Linked DNA regions of Homo sapiens: all the other regions are linked to region 1. The links are contacts of gene promoters, found by promoter capture Hi-C in blood cells and fetal thymus (Javierre and others, 2016). All regions are on one chromosome and are shown on one strand. Each heading gives the region's core, a stretch centred on a gene start or on the middle of the fragment in contact. The rest is flanking DNA. Distances are from core to core; before and after follow the strand shown.

Region 1 (4,963 bases), core at 1,690-4,189:
CTAGGGAGGAGACTCGTGGGGCAAAGGTGGGCCAGCATGTACCCTTCCCCCATAAATCCCTTCCAAAGGCCCCAGCTCAGCACTCAAGGCCTTCAGGATCCTGTCTCCCATCTGCCTCTCCATTCTAAACTTCTGTGCCTTTGCATGTGCTGTTCTAAGTGCCTAGAATGATGATGATAATGATGATATTGATGATAACATAACTTTTTTGAGCGCTTAGAATGTGTTAGGTGCTGTGATGGGCATTATTTCATTGAACTGCTCAGCAATGCCGTGATTAATACCTTTTAAAATTAATTAATGCCTTAATTAATTAAAGGTATTAATTTTAAAATTTATAGACTTTATGTTTTAGAACATTTTTAGATTTATAGAAAAATTGAGATGATATTACAGACAGTTCCCATATATACCTCCTCTAATTTTCCTATGAGTAATACCTTATGTTACTATTTGTTACGATTTGTTATAATTCTTGGTAGATACTTTCCTTGACACATTATTGTTATTAATAACTAAATTCCATAGTTTATTTAGATTGTTTTTACCTAATATCTTTTACATTTAGTAGTTCGTCTGTTTTTTTTTTTTGAGACAGAGTTTCACTCTTGTTGCCCAGGCTGGAGTGCAGTGGCCCAATCTCGGCTCACTGCAACTTCCACCTCTGGAGTTCAAGCCATTCTTCTGCCTCAGACTCCTGAGTAGCTGAGACTACAGGCACGTGCCACGCCTGGCTAATTTTTGTATTTTTAGTAGAGATGGGGTTTCACCACGTTGGTCAGGCTGGTCTTAAAGTCTGACCTGGTGATCCTCCCGCCTCGGCCTCCCAAAGTGCTGGAATTACAGGCATAAGCCACTGCACCCGGCCGTGTCTTTAGGCTCCTCTCTGGCTGTGATGGTTTCTCGGACTTTCCTTGATTTGGATGACCTTGATAGTTTTGAGGGGTACTGGTCAGCCAGCAATTTTGTTGGATAGCCCACTCTTGGAGTCTGTCTGTTTTTCTCACAAGGCTGGGGTTATGGGTTATTGGGAGGAAGACCACAAAGGTAAAGTGTCATTTTCATCACATAGTATCAAGCACATATCAACATGATTTGTGGCTGTTGATCTTGGCCTTGATCACTTGTCTGAGTAGCAGTCATCAGCTCTCTCCCTGTAAAGTTACTCCTTTCCTCTCCCTTTCCATATTGTGCGCTTGGGGAGGACGTCACTATCTGCAGCCTACTCCTAAAGAGTAGGGAGTGATGCTCCCCCTCCCTGATTGTCTACATAAATTATTTGGAATTCTTCTGCACAGACAATTTGTCTCTTCTCTCCCGTTTATTAATTTATTATCTCATTGAATTTCTCAACAATGGGTTGGTCCTCTGATTATCGTCATTTCTGGAAACTGGAAGGCCTTCCTTTCTTCCCCACCTCGCTCACCCCAGAGCCAATTTCTGAAGCCCTCTCCACCTCTCCAGGAAAGAGTGGCCTCCTCTGTGCTCTCCCGCCATGCTTTAACATTCCAACTAATTCATGCCACACAGATTTCTTGTGCCCCTGCTCTGTGCCAGGCACTGTGCTTGGGGATTGAGAACAAGCAGTCCCTATGGGCCCTGTCTTCGAGTTGCTCACAGTGTTTGCCATCCTGTGCTGGACTAGAATCTTCGTGAGGGCAGGGGCATTATCCAGTTTTTTAATAGCTGTGCTCCAGCCAACCAGCTATTAAAAACAGTGGTTGATGTTTACTAGGTCCTCTATGAATATTTACTGAATTTGGAAATGCTTCCTGGAGGACAAACGCTGGCAGATGATTGTTTATCTCTGTGCCCTTCCCGGGGGACTGTGCGCTCCCTGAGGGCAGGGCCAGCCCTGATCCATCCTGGCCCAGCGGTCGGGGGGTGGTGGATGCCATAGAAATCTAAGCCGGTGAAGGGATCCTGGAACCGGCTGCCTCCTCAGGTAGAAGTGTAAGTTTGGAAGCTGACACAGCTCGGGAGGCCGAATCAGGAGGACTTGGTGACTGATTGGCTGGGGAGGGTGAGGCGGGAGGAGGAGTCACACAGATGGCTCTGAGGTCTGGAGCCGGGGGACAGCCGGTGCCACCTCTGATAGACTCTGCGAGAGGAGCCACTGCCAGCTTCGGGCCGCCCCATCCGTCGGGGATCCGGCCTAGGGCTAGGGAGGGGTGGCTGGGCCTGTGCAAACTTCTACTCCCCACCCCTATGTCCTCGTCTTAAAAAAAAAATCGGCCTGGATTTTGAGCAGGTCGTTATCAGGGGTGAGGGTCCATCCTGGGGGTCCCCTCCAGGCGGCCGTCTTCGAGGGAGACCCCCAGGGGCAGCCTGGCACCGCGCGGGCTCGGCCTGGTCAGGGCCGTGGCCCGCCAGGCCCAAGTCCCCAGCCTGCCATCACCCAGGAGTGGGGTGGCGAGGCGGCCGCCGGGCCTGGGCAGGACAATGGCCACGGCCGCCGGGGCCCCGGGAGCCCCCGCGCTGGGGAAGGGGCTGTCCTAGGGCCGGGCGCCGGTGCCCTCCCCGCGCGGCTCAGGCGGGCGGAGGGGGGCGAGGAGTTCCTTTGTGGCTCTGCCTCCGGCGCGGCGCGGGCGGGGGGCGCAGCGCAACTTTGCCAGGCGGTGGCGGCGGCGGCGGCGGCGGCGACGGCGAGCGCGAGACGAGGCCCCGGGGCCCGAGTGGGGGCCCCAGCGCGCGGCCCGCCCCCGCCCCCCGCCCGGCCCCCTCCCCTCTCGCGCAGTCGCCAGCGCCCGGCGCTGCCCACTCGCGGGAGCCCCCGGGGCCGGACGGGCTGCGCAGCCGGAGAGGCGGGGGCCCGACGCGGCCCCCCCGGAGCCGGGCGCCTGGCGCGGGGGCTCGCCGAGCGCACTGGGGGCCGCGCGGCGCTGCAGACCCAGCCTCCCGCCGCCGCCGCCGCCGCCGCCTCGGCGCTTGCAGAACCCAGAAGTGAACAGCAGGCGACCCGGAAGGTTTGCGCGCGGCTCCGCAGCGAGCCAGAGCCGGAGCCCGAGCCCGGAGCCTGTGCCGGAGCCCCAGCCCGGCCCTGCTCGGGCCGCCGGGCGCGGGGCTGCGGCCGCGTCCCGGAGGCGCCGCCAGCACAGCCAGGTCCGTGCGGGCCCGGGGCGCGCGGGGAGCGGGCCCAGCGGCGGCGGGCGCCTGCCCGCGGGAAAGTTGCGCCGAGTTGCGGGCGGGGGCCGGGCCGGGGCGCGGGCGCTGTCAGCGCGGGCCGGGGCGCTCCGAGGGCCCGGGGCCGCCTGCGCCTCGGGCCCGGCCCAGAGCGGCGGCGGCGGCGGCGGCAGCGGGGCGCGCGGGGTAGGAAGTGTCTCCCGCGGCGTGTCTGGGGCTGGTCTCCGAGTGTGTGTGCGTGTGTGTGTGTGCGCGCGCGTGTGTGTGTGTTTTCTTAAGCCGGGCTATTCAAACCCTGCTGCAATTCTCCGGTAAACAATGATTCATGGGGCATAATGCAAATAAACGGATTGCAAACGGCGCGGTTCGCGCACTTTGCAGCCGGCCCGGTGGAGCAGCCAGTGCCGGATTTCTCCCTTTTTTTGCAGATCTGCAGAATATGGCGTCCCTGTCCTGTTTTAAAAATAAGCCAGGCTGCCATTTTTGTTTTTCTTTTGTCTGAAAATTTTAATAAAACTGTCTGAGAATGTGGGAGAGGCGGCTGGAAGCAGAGGGGGCACCCGAAGGGTTGGCTTTTTTCCTTTTCTTTGGCGAGAGCCGCGAGCCTTTCGGGGAGGTGAGACACAATGCAATTGCACTTTAAAGAAAAAAAAAAAGGGAAGCTGCCGGGCGATTTGAGGGGGGAGGGCTGGGAATTTAAAGTTAACTCCGAAAGTTTGCTTTGCTTTGCTTCTCTTTCTTTCTTTCTTTCTTTTTTTTTTTTTTTGGAAGGCGGTGAAATGCCGCGAAAGGATCTCGAGGCCCATTTCTCCCCCAGCCAGCTGCCTTTGCAGGATTTTTGGGAAAAGTTAACTGCCGGTTTCCTCAGAGCTGCGCGGGATGGGGGTGGGGGGGCGGATGTGGAGGGTTGAGGATGGGAGTTTTGGGGGAACTGGGAAACATTTATTTGGAAGGGGCTCTATAAACATGGCATTGTAAGGAGCTAGATCCTCAGATCTGGGGGAGAGGGCCGGCAAGAGGGGCTCAGAATGGGTCCAGGATTTCCAGCAAAGACCCCTGGCATGAGGAAATAATCCTGCTGTCCCACCACCCTGCCCTCGAGCAGTGTGGAACCTTCGGGAGCTGTGTGTGTGGCAGTGGGCCTGTCTCCTTCATGGGTGGCCAGGACCCCCCGTGTAGGCTGGAATCTCGCCCAAGCCCTGGGGTGACCCTTGGACCCTGAGGCAAGTGAGCTTGGCCCTTTGCAGTTGGAGAGCCCCCTCCCCAACCTGGTGGTCCTCCTGCCCCCAGAGGTGGCAGCTGGTGGTAATGTCTTCCCCGACCCCACCCTATGATGAACTTTTGGTTGGGTGCAGGCCTGCGGCCCAGTGGGTCCCGTCTGAGGGAAGGGGCAGGAAAGGTAGTCTGGTTTGCTAGACCTCCTCGGTGTGAGCCTCACCCCTGTAGTATGCTCTTATTCCTTTCTGCCACTCCTGCCCTACGCCCGGGAGGTAGAAGCACTTTGGACTTCGGTTAAGTTCCTGAAGTATCTTGCTGGACAGGTCAGGGCCTGCTGGCTCCGCAGGCTGCCGAGGGGGATCTGAAGGCCAGGCCCACAAGGTCTGGGGTGACTGGTGCTGTCCAAGGCACTGGGGCAGTGTTGGGCCTAGCCTCTCATGTGTCCCCTACCCCAGCATTTCTTGGAGGGGAGACCCTTCTAGTCTCACTCCTGGTTTGTGTCCTGGCTCCACTAGACAGAGTGAGCTCCCAGAAGCCAGAGTCGGGGGTTGAAAGCTGGGGTTAGGGGTTCAGGGCTGTGGAACATGGCATGTCTTGGCCAGAGGGTACCAAGCCAGGTGGT
Region 2 (4,963 bases), core at 1,713-4,212, 110 kb before region 1:
GGGCTTTGTTGATCCCTCCTTCCTTCCCAAGCCTGGCCTTTGTCCCCTCTCTTCACTTAATGTGTTAAATGTGGGGTTCATGATATCAGCCTGACAACCCCAGATTCTTTCCTTCAGGAATTCTCTGGACGTGTATCAAATATATCTCTTGGAGACACCCCCATTTCCAGGAGTCCCCAGTTGATAATGCAAATTTGGCCTCTATAGTTACTTCCACACACGTGGAAACTGTGAGTAAAGCCTGGGAAGTGGCCAGCATTTCTTGGAGCTGCTGCTGAGGCTGAGTGGGGAGAAGGTGGAATGCGCCATGGAGGGGGTGCTCCGACCCCAGAGGGAGAAGGCTGAGCAAAGACAGATCCACTGAGCCAAAATGAGAGGGCGTGGTTTTAGAGCAGTCACAGGGATCTGAGAGGATGGGGGAGGGCTTGGGATACTCTAGTCTCAGAATCACCCCAGTCACTTCCCTGTGAACTGGGCTGCTCTCCATCAGACAATCAGAGACCTCTCCACCCACCCCTGCCAACAGCCCCTCTCCCATCCTCGTTCTCATTCCTCTTCCTAGAAACCCAGGCGAGTCAATGACTGGGGTGGTTCCCTCTCCCCAGCTCCAGGCTGTAGATGAAGATCCACCTGTGGCCTGCAGCCTAACCTCCCTCATTCTGTGGGTGAGGAGGCCAAGAATGGCTTAGGGTGAAAATGACTTAACAGAAAGCCAACACCAGTCCTGGGCTCCCAGGGGTGCTGTACTCCCTTGCACACTGCAGAGAGCACCCAGTGGCCTGGGAGACACAGTAGCAAATGGAAGAAGCTACTTCCCTCATTTCTGTTTGCCAGCATAATTTCACAAGCCTCTGACTCTGTGACCATGTGCGGCTCTGTGGAGGGATACTTTGGAGACAAGACAGAATAGTGGGCATGGCCCCCATGTCTCTTGCCTGAGTCACTACGTTCCTTAAAAGATAAATAAACCTAGTCCTTGCCTTTTCCTGTACAGAAGATAGTGTCTGATGGCATTCATGATTATGCCTCTGTAATCTATAGCCCAGACACACTCTTACATGCAAACGTTGATATATGATTCCGCTTTAATGTTACTTCTTTTTTTTTTTTTTTTTTTTGAGACGGAGTTTCGCTCTTTGCCCAGGCTGGAGTGCAATGGCGCGATCTCCAGCTCACCGCAACCTCCGCCTCCCGGGTTCAAGAGATTCTCCTGCCTCAGCCTCCCGAGCAGCTGGGATTACAGGCATGTGCCACCACACCCGGCTAATTTTGTATTTTTTAGTAGAGACGGGGTTTCTCCACGTTGGTCAGGGCGGTTTTGAACTCCCAACCTCAGGTGATCCGCCTGCCTTGGCCTCCCAAAGTGTTGGGATTACAGGCATGAGCCACTGCGCCCGGTGGCTTTAATGTTACTTCTGAGCAAGTGTGATGTGATTTTGCGTGTACTAAACCTCCACCACCTGTATATAAGCAGTGGGCTAAAATACTGTCCTGGGCCCGACTGATAGAACCTCTCTAAAGGGCCGCTGCTGGGCTCTAGGCCTGTCTATAGTACTCAGTAAGACTTCTAAGTAAAGTGAACTTTAATTCTTTAAAAGCTTGATATTTCTTCTTTAGTCGACAGTCTTTTCCACTTAAGTGTGCACAGCCTGTGTGTCCACATGCAGAGCCTGTCCTAACTCCCAGCCAGGATGCTTCCTCATCAGTCAGAGGTGGGATGGACCTCAGGATGGTCCTGGTCTAGGTGGTTCCATACCCGTCACAGCCCATAAGGAGAAAGACAGACTTCTTGGGTCAGAGCCAGCCCAGAGGTTCAGGAAACCCATACAGCTCCAGGCACTGACTCTGGGAGGCAGCTGGGGGGATAGGGTAGGGCCTCCTTAAGTGCACTGCACTTTACAGCTTACCAATAAATTATGTGAAATTGGTATCCTCATCTTCCATGTGGGAAAACTGAGTCCCAGAGAGGGTGGTCATTTTTCTAAAGTCACACAGTGATGGAGCCTGGATTTGAGCTGAGGTCTGTGTGGTTCCCGAGACCAGGCTCTTGCCACTGCCCCATGAGCTGCCTGCTGCCTGCTCCCAAGACTACCACCACCTCTCCTCCAGGTAAAGACTGACAGCCTTCCCTGGCTGGTAAGTTTTTGGACAGGTTTGTGGTGTGGCACTTGCCAGCATGGGATATGGGACCCCAGGTAAGTCTTGGCTTCTCTCTGAACCTCAATTTTCCTCCTCTGTAAAATGAGCATAATACCATTTACCCAGCCGGGCTGCTTTGTGGATTAGCTATGCTCATGTGTGTGCACTGCCTGGGACAGAGCTGGGTGGGCCTGTGTGTTTGTCAAAATGAATGGAACTGGCTACTGACATCTGTAACTTTAATTTAATACAAATTGATCATAACTCATAAAATGGGCAACATTTTAAATAAAAATACTGCTGGGGTGGCCCAGATTCTGGTAGTTGAAGGGTTGGGGTAGGGCTGACAATTCCTTTTGCCCAAGGGAGGCCCGGGTGGCGGGGGCAGCCATTTTAAGAACCCCCTGTGTTTAGCTCTTCCGGCTACTTTGGGATGGTGTGTTGTGTCAGAGACCCCAAGTGCAGAATCTAGGCCCCAGGACTAGAAAGAAAAGTCAAGGCCGGGGAGACATTTAGGCTCAGTCTTGCAGCCCACTCCTCCAGTTCCCACCTCTGGGCAGGGATAGAGCCAAGGGGCAGGACAACCCTAGATGTGGACTCCACCCTCTCCCGAGTTCTTCACGATTGGATGCTGTGGCAGAAAAACGCAGGTGGGGCTTGCTCCACCCACCCTAACTTCCTTCTAGGGAAATGACATTTCCCAGACTCCCTTGCAGCCAAGGTTCTGGATCTGACTTAAGTTCCCCCAAACAGAATCTCTTGTAAAAATTTAGATTTGGGAACTGAGTGAAGTGGGAGAGGGGCAGGCCTCAGGACATCTATTGGCTGGCACGGACCGTGGCAGAGGGAGCCTAGTTCTGCAGTCAGCAGCTTTCTGGCATAGTGGCTTCCTGCAGATGGGGGCAGCTTTCCTGGTCACAACAGACATGATGAATCTGGCGCTGGGAGTTCCTGGAAATTCAGCAGAGTCTGCTTCTCCAGCTCTTCCAACAATTTTGCAAGCCACCAGGGGCCAGGTAGTAAATCCTTGTCTAATTAAACCAGCTACAAGTGGCTCTTGTTTTCTGCAGCAGGATCCTAACTGAGATAGATGCCAAGTCTGACAAGGGGTCCAGCCAACAGCCCCTCCCAGTGCTTGGGTCCTAATTACAACAACTGCTTCTGGAAGCCTCCTGCACCCTAGCAGGTCACAGAGGCCTGGCTGAAGAGGGTTGGCTGGACTCTTGTTCAGAGCTACTGGGGACCTCGATCATCCAGGGAGGCTTGTCCTGCAGTTGCTTTTAGGCTAATGGGCTCTGCATCAGCTTTGGGTATACCCTCACCCTGTCCCTCGGCCTGTGGGCAGGAAGGTGGTGGCACATGACTATAATGTGTGGACTCAACTACCAGGTGCCTTCCACAGGCCACAGCATCATCACTGACCAGCAGATCAGTGGGAGAAGTAGGAACCATATAGTTCTTGGTGTGGGGGTGGCAGGAGAGGTTGGCTCTCAGGCAACCCTAGGACCAGGTACTACCTGTGACCACTGTGGACTGGGGTCAAGGGTAAATGGCCCATCACTAGCTTGGTCAGGGGTAAGTCTTAGGCCATGGGACATAAGAGGGTGCTGTGTGTCTTTCGGGCTGCCAACTACTGGCCATGCTCTGACACTTCCTGAGGTCAGGGCTGGGCTGGAGGGAGACACTGGAAGGTAGTCCCCTGCCCCTGAGAAGATGGGGATGAGGGTTGGGCAGGGGTTGCCCTGAGGAGAAGCCATGTCACATCCTTGGATCAAAGCTGTATCCCTATCAAGGTCAGAGCTACAGAACATCGATGCTGGAAGAGAGTTTAGGAAGTAGGGAATGCAACCTCCATTTTACAGACTGGAGGCTGGAGGGTAAACAACTGGCCTGAGGTCTCCAGTGGCCACGGTGGGCTGGAGTCCAGGTCTTCTATCTCCTGGGCAGGGCTCTTGCAGGTGGCAGTGGTCCCAGGAGGTTGTGGTCTCCTTCTGCCTGGACTAGATGCGGACGGTGTTGATCCGCAGCGGCTGAACGTTCTTGCCATTGGCGTGGCTCTGGCCAGGGCTGAAGTAAGAGCAGAGCTTGCCAGGGAACTTCTCGCGGAAGGTGTAGAGCCAGGACATGTCATCAGCATTGTAGAAGATGAGCAAGCCTTGGTCATAGTCCAGGAAGACACCCACCTTGTCAAGCTTGTCCCGGACGTTAAGCCGCGTCCAGGGCTCCGTGCAGGCGCTGTACTGGTTGCCATCGTGCATCACGATGCAGTAGAAGCCGCGGCTGGGCTGGATCTGGATGCTGCCCTTGCGGCTTGCGGCTTCGTGTGCCAGCCCGATCACCCACTGGGTCTTCTCCGCCACCACCACCTCCCAGTAGTGGACGCCACTACTGAAGGCTTCAGAACCCAGCACCGACACCTCCACATCGAAGCGCTTTGGCGAGTCCTGCAGTGGCTGTGGGTGCAAGTTGCCGTAAGCCACAATGGTGCAGTCGTCCGACAGGATCAGGCGCTGGTGGGCTGTGCCCGGGTCCAGGGTTAGGGCGGCTGGCACTGTGGGGGTTGGAGGAGGGAGAGAAGATGAGTGGGGAGAAGGCTGTGGACCCACCATGCAGTGCCTTCCTGAGGGCAGAGTTCTGGTTGGTACGCAGGAGGCCTCTGACCTGCTGTGTGACCTTGAATACAAGTCTGCCCTCTCTGGGCCTCATCTTCCTCCTCTGTAGAATGGAAGGGTGGTGGTTAAGGTCCTTCCAGATATTGTCTGCAGGGGAGCAGGGGCTACAGCTGCTTGTTCACTGCCTGATGCCCAGGGCGGAGCACATAGTG
Region 3 (4,963 bases), core at 1,060-3,559, 79 kb before region 1:
TTGGTGCTCCCTGGGACAGTTGGCGTGTTGGGAAGGAGGGTGAATTCTGAGTCAGAAAGACCACTTTGAATCTCAGCTCTTCCTCCTACTTGCAGTGTGATCTTGGGAAGGTTACTGAATCTCTCAGCCTCATTTTCTTCATCTGTGAGATGGTACTGATCTCAGTCCCACTCAGGGAGTAGGGAACGAAAAAATCCTTGTGAGAATCAAATGCCTATAACACAGCACCTGGCACACAGTAAGTGCCCCATAACTTACTTTGTGCCTCCAAAACTTGGGCTATAATTTTATAGAGTCATTGTTTCATCATTGTTAGTCCCTACCAGGTCTTTTTTCTTTCTATAAAATAAACATCTTGGGGTCCCCAATGTTGGCCCTAAGCTTCTACACTGTGGCCCGTGCTCAGCAAAGGTATCCTGGCTGCCCAGACACCTGTGAAGAGGGATGTGGAGATGCCAGCGGCCAGCTCTGAGTTTGACCCACAGCCAGCTTTGCCCTCACAGAGGCTGCTGTTGGCATAGAAATCCTGCCCTCTCCTTGGAAAAGTAACAGCAGAGCCACTTCCCCACAACACAGACAACCCAGCTGCCTTCCTGTCCATGCTACAAAATAAAGTGCCTCTGAATCTCTCATTTCTTTGGATATTTAGCAACTCTTTCTCTCTCTTTATACAGAAAGCAGGAGGGCTAGTTCTTACTTCCATTTCTCAGATTGGGTAAGAGGGTGTCACCCCCTCTCCTGGAAGAAACCAGAGCCGAAATTTGAACCTAGCCCCCAGCCCCCTCCCTCCTTGGGTGGCTGCCTTGGTGTCACTGGATCACCATACCCTGCCTACCAGGGCTTGCGTCCAAGGCTGATCCACTGCTGTCTTCTCTGGCATGAAGGAAGCCTTGGGAAGGGCTCCAATGGTCACATGAGGCCTGGAGGGGGCGGCTGAGACTGAATCGGATCCCCTCTCTGGGGGTTAGGAACCTGAGACGGCCAGAGAGCCGGATGCCACGTCTGCTCTGACCAAGATGACGTCCCAACCACCTGCCCTCGGGGCGTCAGCTGGCACAGATGGCCTAGCCCTGTCAATACAGGACAGGCAGGGTGGCTGGGAGACAATTACCCAGCCCTCAGAGGTAGCTCAGGGACGGTATGTGGCCTAGTCAGACTGGCTTCCAATCCTGGCCCTGCCATTTACCAGCTGCGTGACCAAATGAGTCACTTAATTCCTCTGAGTCTGTTTCTTCATCAGTAGAAGAAATAGATAACAATACCCATCCCACAGGGTGCTATGAAGATTAAATGAGGTAATGCAAGAAAAGCCCTTAGTGCAGTCCCAGGCATTCAGACTGGGCTCGATGAATATTGGCTGAGAAGCCCTGAACTCTTTGGAAATGGGCTCCTTCCCTCCACTTTGCTCAGTGGTCCAGGTACTCAGCAGTGGAGGTGGGGAGGAAGACACCAACACACATACACATGCACACACACACGCACACACACACACATGCACACACACACATGCATGCACAAATGCACACACATGCACACACACATGCATGTACGCATGCACACACACGCACATGCACACCCACAGGTTACATAAAAATCCTTAGAACTGTATAGTAACTCCTGCCATGTTTCATGGGGTATTATTATGGGGGGACTTTAACTTTTACATTATACAGCTCTGCTTCTTATGTTAATTTTATAATCAGAATAAAGACATTTAAAAATAGTTTTGGGGTGCCTACTATGCCAGGCACAGTACTAGGCACTTCTGATAAAGGATCCCTAACCCTTACAACATCCTTCCCAGGAACATCATATCCTCTTGTTATAGATGAACCTTAGAGAAGGAGCCTTAGAGAAGCAAAGTGACGTGACCAAGGACACACAGCATGTCAGGATCTGACCCCTGTGATGTAATCTGGAGTACAAAGCAATTGTGCTTAGTAGGTCAGGGAAGGCTTCACAGAGGAGGTGATATTTGACCTGAAGTTTTAAAGTTCAGTGGGACTTTTCTAGGTCAGGTTTCTCAACTAGAGGTGATTTTGACTCTAGGAGACATTTGTCAATGCTTGGAGATGGTTTTGATTGTCACAACTTGCGGGGTGGGTGGAGTTTGCTACTGGCATCTAATGGGTAGAGGCCAGGAATGCTACCAGACTTCCTATAACACACAAGATGGCCCTGCACAACAGTTATCTAGCCCCAAATGTCAATAATGCCGAGTACGATGTAACCTACTATAGCTGTCATTTATTGAGTGCTGTTAGGTGCCAAGTGCAGTACTAAGTTTTTATAAACATCATCTTGTTTAATCCTAATATAATTACTTCCATGCTGTCCATGAAGGACCCAAGGCTCAGAGATGGTAAATAATCTTCCCAAAGTCACACAGTAAATGGTAGAGCCAGGATTGAGATTACCTGGGTACAAAGCAGGGCTCTTAATTTCTCTGCTCTGATGCCTCAAGGATTTATAATAAATGTAAAAGCTGCACGCCAACTGCTAGGTAGGGTGTTGGGAGACTCCAGCTGAGTATAGGCCCAGCTTCCTCTGGCTTCGAGGCCTTAGGCAAGTTCCCTTCCTCCCTCTCCCTCTCCTGTTTCCCCATCTGTCAAGTGGATGTGGCACCAGATCATCTGCATGGCTCTGAGTCTGTAATTCTGCAGAAGGGCCCCAGCTCCATCAGCTGCTGGGAGAGAAGGGGATGTGAGGGTGGGTTCAGCCTTATTTCTGCTGCATAAATAGCTAATAAGCCTTGCCTTCCCCATATGGAGGGAGAGGCAGGTGGGGTGGAGGGTGCCTTGAATCTCACCCAGCAGCACATCCTCTCTAGATGGGAGGCAGATTTCTCTGCCACCAAATTGCCAAGCCCAGAGGACACACTAAAGCAAGGCCTCCTTCTCGGGCCAGAGAGGAGAGTCTGGGCATTCACTCAGCTGGGCACATGAGCTCTCACAGGCAGAAAGAGAAAAGGTGGGCTGTATGTTATTCCAGCCCGTACTGTGTGCCTTTGAACCTCAAATAGCAGGTTAATCCCAGGTCAGCTTCACAAAAGTCCTGGTAGGAAGGAAGCATCCTGACCCCATTGTACAGACAGAGCATCAGCGTTTACATGAAGTGACTCACCAAGGTGCACACAGTGCCCACAGCAGGTTTGGAACCCAAGTATGTCCAACCCCACAACAGTGCACTAGAGAGTAAGCAAGTGGCAGTCCTGTTTTACTTTTCACCCAATAATGAAGCATTTCAATAATATTTGTAGGTAATACATGTTCAATTTCTCCTGTGTCCCCCAGGTCATGGGATAGAGTACAGAAGCCCAACATACAGTAATTTGGATTTCCTGGTTTGCAGACAGGAGAACCAAGGCTCTGAAGCAGAGGCTAGAAGGTCAGACAAGGAGGGGAGAGATCAGAGAAGAGGGATCTGGGTCAGGCTGTGCCCTATAGCCCTGGCTCTCTCACTGTCTGGAAGTGTGGCCTTGGGCAAGTCACATAACTTCTCCAGGCCTCACTTTCCATTCCTACATGATGAAGAGGTTGGACAGATGGTTTCAGACAGAGTCCCCTCAAACTCTTCCTGCTTATGTGACTCCATAGACGGGGAGATGGACAGCAGCAGCGCCTAAAACGATGGCTCTGGGGGTGGAGGGCCAAGCCTTGTGCAGGCTCCCAGAGGCCCAGGCCCTTGCTCACCCTCTGATGGGGCCTTCATCCTCAGACAGCTAGACTGGAAGGGAGTCAGTTGTAGTTTTGAGATAAAAGGGACAGGGAAGGAGCGATGGTGAACATGGGCCATTTCTCCTGAGGCCCATGGGCATCTGCTGGGTGCAGGCCTACTCAAAGACTAGTGTGTGGAGGGGTTGGGAGCCCCTACAATACAGGGGAAAGTAATTATTTAGTTTCTGTTTGAGTATCTCGAGGCCAGAGAGCTCATTACCTCCCAAGTTAGCCCACTCCATTTTCATAAAATGTTTGAGCCAAAAACCTTCTGCTTCCAAACGCTCCACAGTGTGGTCCAGCTTAGGCCAGGGTTGGTCATTCTTTCGTTCATTCATTTGGCCTTTATTGGTGTGTACTGTGGGCCAGGCCTTGCACCAGGCTTTGGGGCCATAGATAGGAGAAATAAGATTCTGTCTCTGGCCTTGGAGAACTACGTGCTCGACTAGTATCCCAAAGCCAGGTACATGGGGCTGCTGGATTTAAGTGATTTAGCTTGAAAAAAGGATTCCAGGCCCAAGTAAGCTTGGGAACCATTTTATTAAACACAGTAAAATAGATTTATTTGCAACAAAATTTCTCTAAGCTTTTAATATGCAAATGCACACTGAAAATTCTCCAAGGGGGTGGGTATAAAAAATATACTATATTTCCCACACTTATTAATAGAGAGCATTTGGGGAAATGCAGTTCTAATGTTTTTGTTTGTTTGTTTGTTTGTTTGACCAGTGGAACTTGGAGAAGGCTTCACGGAGAGGATATTTGAGCAAGGCTCAATAAAAGTTGAGTAGGAGTTTGTCAGTGAAGACAGGAAGTCTTAAGGGAGACCGATTAGAGTTCTATGCCAACTATGCTCAGGTCACTCTGCATGTACCGTTTCACTTAGTCTTCAAAAGTCCTGATGTGGGGGACAGAGCCAAAGAGGTCATCAAAAACCTCTAGAGACTCCTAGAGGTCTAGCCCCTCCCTTCTTGAATCACCTTACATCTGGGCCTTATTCTCCAAATCTTTACCTTTAAGTCCTGGCCCCACTCAACCTGGCCTCTACTCTGGCTTAAATCTAAACTTGTTGTAGAGTATCCGGACCTGATCTCAGTCTTAACCCCTCATACACCTTGGCCTAACCCTCGGTACTCAAACCTGCCCTCTCAGCACTTTGGCACCCTAACTTATACCACTCTATTAGGTTTCACCCTCACCTGTCCAGCACATTCTAGCCCCCGTACTCCTCTTAGTCCTGATGCACA

The links. Contacts are between HindIII fragments. The CHiCAGO score rates a contact against its expected background, and 5 or more counts as called.
Region 2: a fragment that was not itself captured here is called in contact with the fragment with the promoter of ZNF362 in region 1 in 1 of 17 cell types (naive B cells); the score reaches 5.5 in naive B cells.
Region 3: a contact is called between a fragment that was not itself captured here and the fragment with the promoter of ZNF362 in region 1, in 6 of 17 cell types (total CD8 T cells, total CD4 T cells, naive CD4 T cells and 3 more). The highest score is 6.8, in total CD8 T cells.

What each region holds. Positions count from the first base shown.
Region 1 is chr1:33,253,553-33,258,515 of GRCh38, forward strand. It overlaps ZNF362 (zinc finger protein 362), which reads left to right and starts at 2,940. Exons shown (of 9, transcript NM_152493.3): 1 at 2,940-3,102. RefSeq lists silencers at 2,329-2,428, 2,871-2,930 and an enhancer at 3,396-3,690. The HindIII fragment of the contact is 6,922 bases long and covers 1-4,963 here.
Region 2 is chr1:33,143,038-33,148,000 of GRCh38, forward strand. TRIM62 (tripartite motif containing 62) reads right to left here. Exons shown (of 5, transcript NM_018207.3): 5 at 2,362-4,690. The coding sequence ends at 4,140. It also overlaps a transcript of AZIN2 not described here and a transcript of ZNF362 not described here. Among named protein-coding and RNA genes, the nearest start is that of TRIM62, 37 kb to the right of the region's middle. The HindIII fragment of the contact is 2,733 bases long and covers 1,597-4,329 here.
Region 3 is chr1:33,175,573-33,180,535 of GRCh38, forward strand. The region is part of intron 1 of TRIM62 (tripartite motif containing 62); the gene reads right to left. It also overlaps a transcript of ZNF362 not described here. Among named protein-coding and RNA genes, the nearest start is that of TRIM62, 4.0 kb to the right of the region's middle. RefSeq lists an enhancer at 2,725-2,894 and a cis regulatory region at 2,810. The HindIII fragment of the contact is 3,860 bases long and covers 380-4,239 here.